Linked DNA regions of Homo sapiens: regions 1 and 3 are each linked to region 2. The links are contacts of gene promoters, found by promoter capture Hi-C in human tissues and cell types (Jung and others, 2019). All regions are on one chromosome and are shown on one strand. Each heading gives the region's core, a stretch centred on a gene start or on the middle of the fragment in contact. The rest is flanking DNA. Distances are from core to core; before and after follow the strand shown.

Region 1 (3,659 bases), core at 1,002-3,501, 61 kb after region 2:
GGTCACACTACCACAGGCACTCCAAATTAAAGCCAAAGTGTCCTACTATATATATACATCTTCAGAAAAAAATTGTCCCCTAAAAAAGCATTTCAAAAAATTGGAACAAGCTATATCAGATGCTCAGATGTTAATAGAAGGACACAGGATTCACAAAAGGTAAGGAAATATGACACACCAAAGGACCACAACAATTATCCGGCAACATATTCCAACCAAAAATAATTGCTCAATATTCCAGATAAAGAATTCAAAATATTGATTCTGAAGAAGTGCAATGAGATGCAAGAGAAATCTGCATCAAACAAATAAATCAGAAAGGCATTCAAGAAATGAATGAGAAATTTACCAAGGAGATAGATACCTTAAAAAAAAAAAGCATAAGTTCTGGAATTGAAAAGCTCATTGAAAGAAATAAAAAAAATATTTGAAAGCTTCAATAATAGACTAGATCTAACAGAAGAAACAATCTCAGAATTTGAATACAGGTCTTTTGAAATAATCCAGCCAGACAAAAATAAGGAAAAAAGAATAAAAAATAATGAACAAAGCAGATGTTTGGGACTATATAAAGCAAACAAACTTAAAAATTATTGGTGTTCCCAAGGAGGAAAAGAGATCAGAGTTTAGAAACCCTGTTTAAGGAGGTAATCTATGAAAACTTCCCAAGTCTAGCAAGAAAGTTAGACACCCAGGTATAGGAGGCCTAGCAATCTCCATGAAAATACATTGCAAAAAGGATTTCACCATGGCATATTATATTCAGAATGTCTAAAGTCAAGGTAGAAGAAAGAATTTTAAAATTAGCAAGAGAAAAGCATCTAGTCACCTGTAAAGGAAACCTTATTGAACTAACAGCAGACTTTTCAGCAGATACCTTACACAGGAGAAGAGAATGATATGGTATATTCAAAGTACTGAAAGGAAAAAATTGTCAGTCTAGATTTTTATTTTCTGCCAGAATAAGCTTCATAAATGAAGGAGAAATAAAGTTTTTCCCAGAGAAGCAAACACTGAGGGAAATTGTCACCACTATACCAGCCCTAAAGGAAATGCTCAAAGGGGTCTTAAACATGGAAACAGAAGGTTGATATTCACCATCACAGAAACAAATGAAAATATAAAACTCATAGGTCTTATAAAACAATCACACAAAGGAGGAAGAGAAAAGGATCAAATGGCAACATGACAGAATTTCATCAAACCACAAAGAGAAAAACACAGAGAAAAAAAAAAGAAAGAAATAATTTATAAAACAACTTGAAAACAATTAACAGTGACAGGAATAAAGCTTTACATATCAATATCAACCTTGAATGTAAATGGACTAAATGCTCCACTTAAAAGATATAGATTGGGCCGGGCGCGGTGGCTCACGCCTGTAATCCCAGCACTTTGGGAGGCCGAGGCGGGCGGATCACGAGGTCAGGAGATCGAGACCATCCCGGCTAAAACAGTGAAACCCCGTCTCTACTAAAAATACAAAAAATTAGCCGGGCGTAGTGGCGGGCGCCTGTAGTCTCAGCTACTTGGGAGGCTGAGGCAGGAGAATGGCATGAACCCGGGAGGCGGAGCTTGCAGTGAGCCGAGATCCCGCCACTGCACTCCAGCCTGGGCGACAGAGCGAGACTCCGTCTCAAAAAAAAAAAAAAAAAAAAGATATAGATTGGCAGAATGCATTAAAAACATGACTGAACTATATTCTACATACAAAACTCATCTTACCAATAAAGACACACATAGACTCAAAGCAAAGAGGTGGAAATAGATATTCTACACAAAAGGAAACCAAAAGTTAGCAGAAGTAGATATATTGTATCAGATAAAACAGACTTTAAATAAAAAGCAGGAAAAAAGACAAAGAAGGTCATCATATAATGATAAAGGGATCAATTCAGCAAGAGGATATAGCAGTCCTAAATGTATATGCATTCAACATTGGAGCACCCAAATTAATAAAACAAATATTACTAGACCTAAAGAGGTGGCAATACAATAATAGCGGGAGCTTCAACATCCCACTCACAGGACTAGATAGATCATCAAGACAAAAAATTAACAAAGAAACATTGGACTTAAATTGGACTTTAGACTAAATGGACTTATACAGAACATTCTATGCAACAACTACAAAATATACATTCTTTTCATCAGCATATGGAATATTCTTCAAGATAAACCACGTTAGGTTATAAAACAAGTCTTAACAAATTTTAAACAATTGAAATTACCTCAAGTATCTTCTCAGACCACTGTGAAATAAAGGTAGAAATCAATACCCAGAGGAACTTTGGAAACCATAAAAATACATGGGAATTAAACAACATGCTTCTGAACAATCACTGGGTCAAGAAAGAAGTTAACACAGAAATTAATTTTTTTTTGAAACACATGAAAATAAAAATGCTATATACTAAAACCTGTGGGATACAGGAAAAGCAGTGCTAAGAAGGAATTTTATAGCATTAAATACCTACATCAAAAAGTAGAAATATTGAAAATAAGCAACCTAACAATGCAAACTAGAAATGCTAGTTTGACAAGGAACTAGAAAAGCAAGAACAAACCAAACCCAGAATTAAAAAGAATAACAGAAATAACAAAGATCAGAGGAGAACTAAATGTAATAGAGACCAACAAAAGTTTACAGAGGACCAATGAAACAAAAAATTGGTTCTTCAAAAAGATAAACAATATTGACAAACCACTAGCTAGACTTACCAAGAAGAGAAAATCCAAATAAACACAATCAGAAATGAAAAAGAGACATTAAAACATGCCACAGAAATACAAAGATCATCAGAGACTATTATGAACAATTATATACTTACAAACTAGAAGACCTAGAGGAAATGGATAAATTACTGAAAACATCTCCTGAGATTGAACCAGGAAGAAATAAAACTCCTGAACAGATCAATAGTGAGTAGTGAGATTAAATTAGTAATAAAAATATTCCAGCAAAAAAAACCCAAGACCAGCTGAATTCTACCAAACAAAGAACTAATACAAATCTTCCTGAAACTATACCAAAAAATCAAGGAGTAGGGAATTCTTCCTAACTCATTCGATGAGGCCAGTGTCACCCTGATACCAAAACTAGACAAAGATACAACAAAAAAGAAAACTACAGACCAATATCCCTGATGAATCTAGTCATCCATGACCTTCTTTGTACTGTTGAGTAGCAGTTTCAGGCAACTGCAGAATCTTGTGGAGCAACACTTGAGATTCTGGAGTAGAGAGAGGTTTCTCATTTACATGTACATGTCAGACACAGTCCTGGCCTTGCAGGTAGGGCCTCTGAAGGCTCCACATGGAACGGGAAGAGGCAGAGCTCAACTCAGAATCTTCAGATTTTCCATCTACACAGACTCTTTCTTCTCTGCTCCCCCTTCTCTGGCCTTTGGTTGTTTGAAAAGGAAAATGGCTTAGTGTGGGTGAATGGGTGCGTGTGTGTGTGTGTGTGTGTGTGTGTGTGTGTGAGAGAGAGAGAGAGAGAAAGAGGAGAAAGACTTTCTCTTTCTGAAATATCATCACCTGACCCAATCCTTCTCCTTTTTGCCTTAGCTGTTGGGTTGGGGGAGAAGTTCCCAGTGAGGTTTCTGTGCCTGAGCTTACCATAATTTTATGACTTTCCATTCAAGTTGATAAGGCTT
Region 2 (3,816 bases), core at 1,254-3,753:
AGGTGGAGCTCCTCACTTATACATCTAGTTCTGATGCCCCTTCTTCCTTTCTTGGGACCGTCATCCACATTCTCCACATCACCCCATGCCCCCAGTGCAGTAGACTGGAATGGATGGTCAGAGGCTGTCTTGGACCACGGGAGGACAGCAATTCCTGTGATGCTCACCCTGTCACTGACTGACAACCTTCTGACCCCATCTCCTTCTAAGAGCATTCTGGTCCCTGAACAGTGAGTTTTGGAGAGGAAACCTAGTTGGAGGATCACCTTAAATGCAGATTTTGTCTTCCTGGGATTGCCCACACACAGCTGAAGATTGTGGTCAAAGTCTCTGAAGTGGCTGCAGGCCTGGGGATCCATGAGTCTCAGCTTCACCTCTTGCAGAGTGTCTGAGCCCGGCTTCAACACACCTGTTCTTCCCCAGCCAGCCACCCGGCACATTCTCCCAGGTGGGACAAAGTTGAATTGGGATGGGAAGGGGAGTGTCCCCACAGCCAGGGTCAGGCTGGCTTTCTCCTTCAACTGTGAAGGGAATGAAGGACTGTCAGTCCTCGAAATGGGCTCTGGACAGTTGGAGGTGATCAGGGAGGGACAGGGTGAGTAGCTTCATGTTATAGCCAAGTCCTAAGAAAAATTCAGGGCAATGAGGACCTGAAGGAGAAGCTTAGGAGAATGGGAAGTGGAAAGGGAGAAGAGAGGTGTTGTCACCTTTAGTAACATGATATCGTGGTGAAGAGTAGAAGTGTTATATTTTGGATGACGGAATTGCTTTATAACCTCAAGCTTCTGCCATGTGTCTTCTTCCTCTGTTATGTTATGGGCTCCAAGGGTGACTGTTATAGACCTGTTGTGAGGAAGAAGGAAGGAAAAGGAGCGACAGTGATGGCTTGGGGTTTCTTCTGAGGTGAGCTCATTCTGAGAAAAGAGGACTAAACTCTGTCACTGGGTCGCCGGACTCTACCCATCTCCCTTTTCATGGGCCACTTGTGGCATTTGAGGGCTCAGGCTTAACTCATGAAAGAGCTTTCTCAGGAAACAGACACAATTTCTACGACCCCTGGAATTGCTGGGGACTGAACAGGCCAGGGAGGACTCAGGGGACAGGGTTCACACTTCCTAATTCAGGGAACCCTGCATGAGGGCCAGCCCCTGAAGCAGGAGATATCAGTTAAACGGGAAAGTGGGGGTCTCATGTAGACCCTGTTCTCTGCCTCCCATAAAATGATGGGTTCAGGACCCTGAGAACTAGAGGCCAGTGTTCTTGAAAAGGCCATAGAGGAAGTGGCCCTGAGACTGGGTGGGGCCCTGAAAAGTGAGCCGTGTGTCTTGAGTTGGGTAGGGGTGAGGGGTGCTACTGCAACAAGAGGGACCTTGGACAGGACCTCCTTTTCCTCCGAAGGGGAGCTTAGCTCACAGTGACTGAGGCTCAAGGAACTATTCAAACACAGACTAAAGTCTTTCAGCCCAAGTCTTCCCTCTCCTGAAAGTTGACAAGACCCAGGACCCCCTCTTCAGTCCCCAGTGCAGGTGTATTCCTGGATGCTACTCTGGTTGTTCATCTCCCATTTGGAGATAAATAGACCCTGTTGTCTCACCTTCCTGCACAATGAGCAGCCGTCAGCACAAAGTTCCGTCTTATAAGGAAACCACCACAAAATTTTGAGGGACCGTTGGAAGTTACAATTTCCAGGTAGGCCATGTAGGGGCGGGAATGTGGCTTGCATTCTGTGCCCCCGATGATCTCCCCTGGAACAGAGCACCCCAGGGTTTGAACACGGCCATAGATACTCTCTCCAATGAATGGACAAATTGGGTTAAAGCTGAGCTAGGCTTCCCTGGAATCTCATTCTCACCCTGTGTTCCGCCCATCTTCCCTCTCCTGTCTCCTGTATTTCGTATCTTTCCCCACCCATAACCTCCCAGGTGAAATCTCATTCTTGCCTCTGCTCCATTCTGATGTTTTCATCTCAGACTTCTCCCACTCCCACCTTGCCCTGGCCCACCCTCCTCTGTCTCTGTGTAGGACCCACTGTCCAGGTTCCTGTTTTAGATTTCTCCATAGCTCTTGAGCATGGTCACAGAGTGAGAAAGTCACAAAGTAATGGGTAGCCCTGATGCTCAGAAGATTAAGAGGACATGTCTGTTTTCCTGGGGATACCCCTTTTCCTTCCACTTGCTCTGGGCTTTTCTACAATTGAGGTGAAATTCCTTGTTCCTGGGGGCTGTCCTAGGCTGTAGAGAATGGCAGTGGGTGGGGGTGGGGGTGGGGTGGCACACATCCCAAGTGGAAATTTCCCTCTGGGACTCTTGAAGAGAGATCTTGGAACCCTGTTTAGGAGTCAGCTATTTTCAGACTAAACATCTTTGTTTCAGGAGCTGATACTGCAGATTTCAGAGGGAAGAACCCTGATACTCACCAGCTTCAGCTCTGGAGCACAAGAGAAAGAGCAGCAGGGGGAGAGGAAGAAGCAGCATCTTCCCAGAGAGGCTGCCTGAGCAAATGCTGGTTTTCCTTTCCAGTCTTGGGTTTTATAACTCCCAGAAGGCAAGAGAGGGGCAAGGCTGGTAACCACAGGAACTGCATGGTCACGTTTTCTTCTCTCACTCTGAATTGGCTGTTTCTGATCAGAAGTTCCCCTAGAATCACCCAGTGTTTTTCTAGAAAGGAACTTGAGCCCTGAACTCCCAAGTGCTGGCTTCTCAGATGTACCCTCAACTATGGTGACTTTTCTGGAGTTGGGGGCAGGAAATGGAGGGACCATGTTTTTCTTTCCCAATTAGGGCAGCTTGTGAAAGGCCCACTGAACGTTCAGTGCAAAGACTTTTATGGCTATGTTCCATAGTCAGAAATGCATATTGCAGAGTCCCAGTGCATGCACATATGTATGTGTGAGTATGTAAGCACAAATTAAAGGTTTCAGGAAACAATCTTTATCTTAACCATGTGCAGTGTTTTCTGTTAGTTTCCATTCCACTCCACTCCACTCCATTCCACTACACGTCAAAACTTGAGCAACAACCCCATTTAAATGATAATTCCTTGTAATTTGAAAAACATTGACCTGGATCTCTCTCCTCCTCTGAACCACATGTTTTTGACAGAAGAGAGATCCAAGGAGGGTAGATGTGGGAAAAGAACAGACCCTAGGACAGAACTTTATGCAAAGAGCAATTGGGATTGGAATTAGCATTTTCTGAGAGTCTAGGTGTATCATATATTGTCACAACTCTTAGATATATTATTACTTTCACGGCAACCCTATCAATATGTATTACCATTATGATCATTATCATGTCATGATAGTCAATTTTTTAAATCAGCTATCATAGCTTATGGTTCAGAAATAGATTTTCCTGATATCAAATCAAGGTCCCTTTCTGCTCTAGCACTAGAGAGAAATAGAGGAATAGAGTCCTGCCAATGTGCAGGGGAAGTAAAGATGTAGAAGGGTGTTTGCTCCAGAGAGGTTGGGGTTTCCTACTGTTGCATTAAGAATCAAGCTTTCCACAACAACCTGGGGACACACCATTACTGTCACTTTACAATTGTAGAATTGATACTCAGACCCATTAACATGACAAAGATCACACACCTTATAATATCAGAAGTGGGTTTCAAGCACATAGCTTTTATTTTCCCTGGACTTACAGAAAGCAGTCCACATGGTGGACTGTCATTTCTCTTGGAGATTTATAAGGCATTTAGTTCAAAGACGGGGATGAGTAGTGTATAAGTGCCTTTCCCAAATCATCTCACTATGCCCTTGGTCTCAGGTTGGGCTTGTGACCAGAGTGATCCACTCCTTAGTATATATTG
Region 3 (4,143 bases), core at 60-2,559, 36 kb before region 2:
GGGTATATACCCAGTAATGGGATGGCTGGGTCAAATGGTATTTCTAGTTCTAGATCCATGAGGAATCACCACACTCCCTTCCACAATGGTTGAACTAGTTTCCACTCCCACCAAGAGTGTAAAAGCGTTCCTATTTCTCCACATCCTCTCCAGCATCTGTTGTTTCCTGACTTTTTAATGATCGCCTTTCTAACTGGTGTGAGATGGTATCTCATTGTGGTTTTGATTTGCATTTTTCTGATGACCAGTGATGATGAGCGTTTTTTCATGTGTCTGTTGGCTGCATAAATGTCTTCTTTTGAGAAGTGTCTGTTCATATCCTTTGCCCACTTTTTGATGGGGTTGTTTTTTTCTTGTAAATTTGTTTAAGTTCTTTGTAGATTCTGGATATTAGCTCTTTGTCAGATGGGTAGACTGCAAAAATTTTCTTCCATTCGCTACAGTCCATACTTTTACAGTGAGTCCTGAGGTCATTATTAACAGTCATTATCTTCCTTTAGCACCTTTTCTGCATTCCCTACCCTAACTCCCTGGCAAGCACTTCTGATGGTTTAGGTTGTTTATTCAATAAGGCAAATCGGATCTTTATCTCTAAGGTTACCGTGCCATTGTTAAGGCAGGATTTCTGCAATTGTGTGTTATAGTTATCACTGGGTAGAAGCATCAAGAAGTGTCTTGTACTGCTTTCTGGGCCACAATTACATTGTTTTGTGGCAACAACTTGATCTCTTCATGATAACCAGGGTCATTTAGTAACTTCACTGTTGCCTAGAGATCTACTGTCAAAAGAAGCTTGACATGACAGTTGGCAGCCGTAACTTTATTTTTTAGTGAAACCCTTATTGTATCCCTGGCCCTGGTGAAAGCAAATCCCCCACTCTGTGCTTGGAAATGAGGACCTTTATTAAGTGGGACCTAAAATTGTAGGGACAGAAAAGCCAAATTTACCACGTTGGTCCCTAGGAGTGCTTGCCTTATACTATGACTTGGTGGTTCTGATATGATTCAGCTCATGATGGACAGCTGTGATCACACAGTCACCCTTATGTCCCATGGTCAGATATTCAGTGTCTGCTAGGGCCCAGTAGCACCCTGGGAACTACTTTTCATATGGTAAATAGTTCTCTGCTACATATGGCATAACCTTACTATGGAACCCTAGAGGTCTGTGCTATAATTCACTTATGAGGGCTTGTCAGTCATTTCAGAGGTGCCCACCCTTATCTGTCATGGCTACCTTTAGCACCCATGGAATCTGCTGGGTCATATGATTACGGGCCAGGGCTGCTCATACAGCAGGATGAACATGCCGCAGGACTCTCTTGTTTTGGGAGATCCTCTGAAAAGCTGACAGCAGCCTTCTGAGAAAACCCATTAAATGGGCTGGAGCAGTATTCCCAAGAGTGTTATATGCTATGTGCAAAATCCAAAGAGGCCTGCCGGGCACTGTGCCTCTTTGTAGTCCATGTCGTCAATATAGCGGATCCATCTGATGATCTGTGAAATGTCCAGATGCAAAGGTCTCTTTGGACTGTGTTGAGAGAGAACCGGAGGTTTAATATAGTGCTGAGATGAGACTGCTTTCCATACTGGGTGAATGCAAACTGTTCTGATCCTTCCTCCTGACGGGAACTAAAAGAACACATTTGCCTTATCAAAAGTCACATATCAAATGCTAGAGGCTGTGTTGCTCTATTCTAATGAAGACACAACATACAAAACTGCAGTAACCGCTGCTCCACCACTTGGTAGAGTAGTCTGCTATCATCTGCTAGGGTGTATTTGGTTTTCCAGGTGACCATTTCTGTATCATTTAAATCTTTGAGGCTACCACCAAATTCTGCCATTTTACCTGGAATGTTGTATTGTTTCTGATTTGCCATCTTGGCTAGGTTGTGGACAACTAAAGCCTTTTTTACCGTAATGCCTCTTATTTTATAAGTCAGGGAATCATGAGAGTTCCATCAGCATTTAAGTGCTGCCTATACATTAAAAGTATGCACTCAGGGACCAGGGTATTTACCAAAGGGTAGGTTCAAGGACCCAACTGGCCCACTGTGGGATAGATTTAGGATAGGGCTTCCTTTATCATTTGGTGCCTTTCAAGTGCAACTCTAACAGATGGACCACAACATATTTTGGGTTCCCTAGTATTAGTGAGAGGTGACAGCGTGCTGGCAGCCCTGGCAGCCCTTGCTCACTCTTGGCGGTGCCTTGGCCTTGGCGCCCACTCTGGCCATGCTTGAGGAGCCCTTTATTCTGCCGCTGCACTGTGGGAGCCCCTCTCTCGGCTGGCTGAGGCTGGAGCCGGCTCCCTTTGCTTGCGGGGAGGTGTGGAGGGAGAGGCGCAGGTGGGAACCGGGGCTGGGCGCGGCACTCGGGGGCCAGTGTGAGTTCCGGGTGGGCGTGGGATCGGCAGCCCGCACTAGGGCTTAGCACCTGGCCAGCAGCTGGGGAGGGTGCACCGGGTTCTCTAGCAGTGCCAGCTGGCAGGTGCTGCACTTGAATTCTTGCCAGGCCTCAGCTGCCTCTCCGTGGGGCAGGGCTCGGAACCTGCAGCCCGCCATGCCCAAGCCTCCCCACTGCCCTGGGCTCCTGCGCAGCCTGAGCCTCCTCGACAAGCACTGCCCCCTGCTCCAGGGCTCCTGGTCCCATCAACTGCCCAAGGGCTGAGGAGTGTGGGCGCATGCGGGACTGGCGGGCAGCTCTGCCTGAAAGGTCCTGGTGTAGGATCCACTAGGTGAAGCCAGCTGGGCTCCTGAGTCTAGTGGGGACTTGGAGAACCTTTATGTCTAGCTAAGGGATTGTAAATACACCAATCAGCACTCTATGTCTAGCTCAAGGTTTGTAAACACACCAATCAGCACCCTGTGTCTAGCTCAAGCTTTGTAAATGCACCAATCAGTGCTCTGTGTCTAGCTAATCTGGTGGGGACTTGGAGAACTTTTATGTCTAGCTAAAGGATTGTAAATGCACCAGTCAGCACTCTGTGTCTAGCTCAAGGTTTGTAAGCTCACCAGTCAGCACCCTGTGTCCAGCTCAAGGTTTATAAATGCACCAATCAGCACTCTGTATCTAGCTAATCGGATGGGGACTTGGAGAACGTTTATGTCTGGCTCAGGGATTGTAAACGCACCAATCAGCACCCTGTCAAAACAGACCAATCAGCTGTCTGTAAATCAGACAAATCAGCTCTCTGTAAAATGGACCAATCGGCAGGATATGGGTGGGGCCAGATAAGGGAATAAAAGCAGGCCGCCCCAGCCAGCAGTGGCAACCTGCTCGGGTCCCCTTCCACACCGTGGAAGCTTTGTTCTTTTGCTCTTTGCAATAAATCTTGCTGCTGCTCACTCTTCGGGTTTGCACTGCCTTTATGGGCTGTAACACTCACTGCGAAGGTCTGCAGCTTCACTCCGGAGGCCAGCAAGACCATGAACCCACCAGGAGGAATGAACAACTCGGGACAGGAAGAACGAACAACTCCAGATGCGCCACCTTAAGAGCTGTAACACTCACTGCCAAGGTTTGCAGCTTCACTCCTGAAGCCAGCGAGACCACGAACCCACCAGAAGGAGGAAACTCCGAACAAGTCTGAACATCAGAACAGACAAACTGTGGACACACCATCTTTAAGAACTGTTAACACTCACCGCGAGGGTCTGCGGCTTCATTCTTGAAGTCAGTGAGACCAAGAACCCACCAAATTCTGGACACATTAGTACCAGCTCAGATCCTATACACAAGACCTCTCAAAAGTGCTGCATATTTTGTAGGTTCCTTTGGCAAAGGATTGGAACAATATTTTCTGAAGGTCAGATGAAGCATAGTGGAAGGACCCAAAGTCACCAGTTCTCTCAGATGCAACTGGGGCAGTGAGAAACTAAAGAAAATATTCATAAAATGGTATACAAGTAGGGGCAACACACAAGGTAGAAGAGATGTCAAATGTTTGCTCTCCTGAAACTGTTAGCTGAGCTTTGATGAGTGTCACTCCATGTTTCCTGGCATAGGTGAGGGTTCCCTCTCTCTGAAAGGGTGGTGGGATCCAGGTTACATCCCTGTTCGTAGGAGTCAGGGTTAGAAGTTAATTGTTATGGAGTGATCAGAAGATGTTTCCCTGGCTCCTGCAATGCCTCCGACCCC

What was found. The method cuts DNA at HindIII sites, captures the fragments that hold promoters and counts their contacts. A contact is called where the count stands out against the background at its distance.
Region 1: a fragment that was not itself captured here is called in contact with the fragment with the promoter of CMA1 in region 2 in 6 of the 25 tissues and cell types used here (H1 embryonic stem cells, aorta, heart right ventricle and 3 more).
Region 3: a fragment that was not itself captured here is called in contact with the fragment with the promoter of CMA1 in region 2 in 1 of the 25 tissues and cell types used here (bladder).

Annotation. Positions count from the first base shown.
Region 1 is chr14:24,567,489-24,571,147 of GRCh38, forward strand. No RefSeq gene overlaps it. Among named protein-coding and RNA genes, the nearest start is that of CTSG, 6.9 kb to the right of the region's middle. The HindIII fragment of the contact is 6,762 bases long and covers 1-3,659 here.
Region 2 is chr14:24,505,762-24,509,577 of GRCh38, forward strand. CMA1 (chymase 1) reads right to left here and starts at 2,504. Exons shown (of 5, transcript NM_001836.5): 1 at 2,417-2,504; 2 at 1,595-1,745; 3 at 708-843; 4 at 267-521. The coding sequence starts at 2,474. RefSeq lists an enhancer at 1,113-2,312. The HindIII fragment of the contact is 12,986 bases long and covers 1-3,816 here.
Region 3 is chr14:24,470,810-24,474,952 of GRCh38, forward strand. The region is part of intron 2 of LOC101927045 (a long non-coding RNA gene); the gene reads left to right. Among named protein-coding and RNA genes, the nearest start is that of SDR39U1, 30 kb to the left of the region's middle. The HindIII fragment of the contact is 3,573 bases long and covers 1-3,096 here.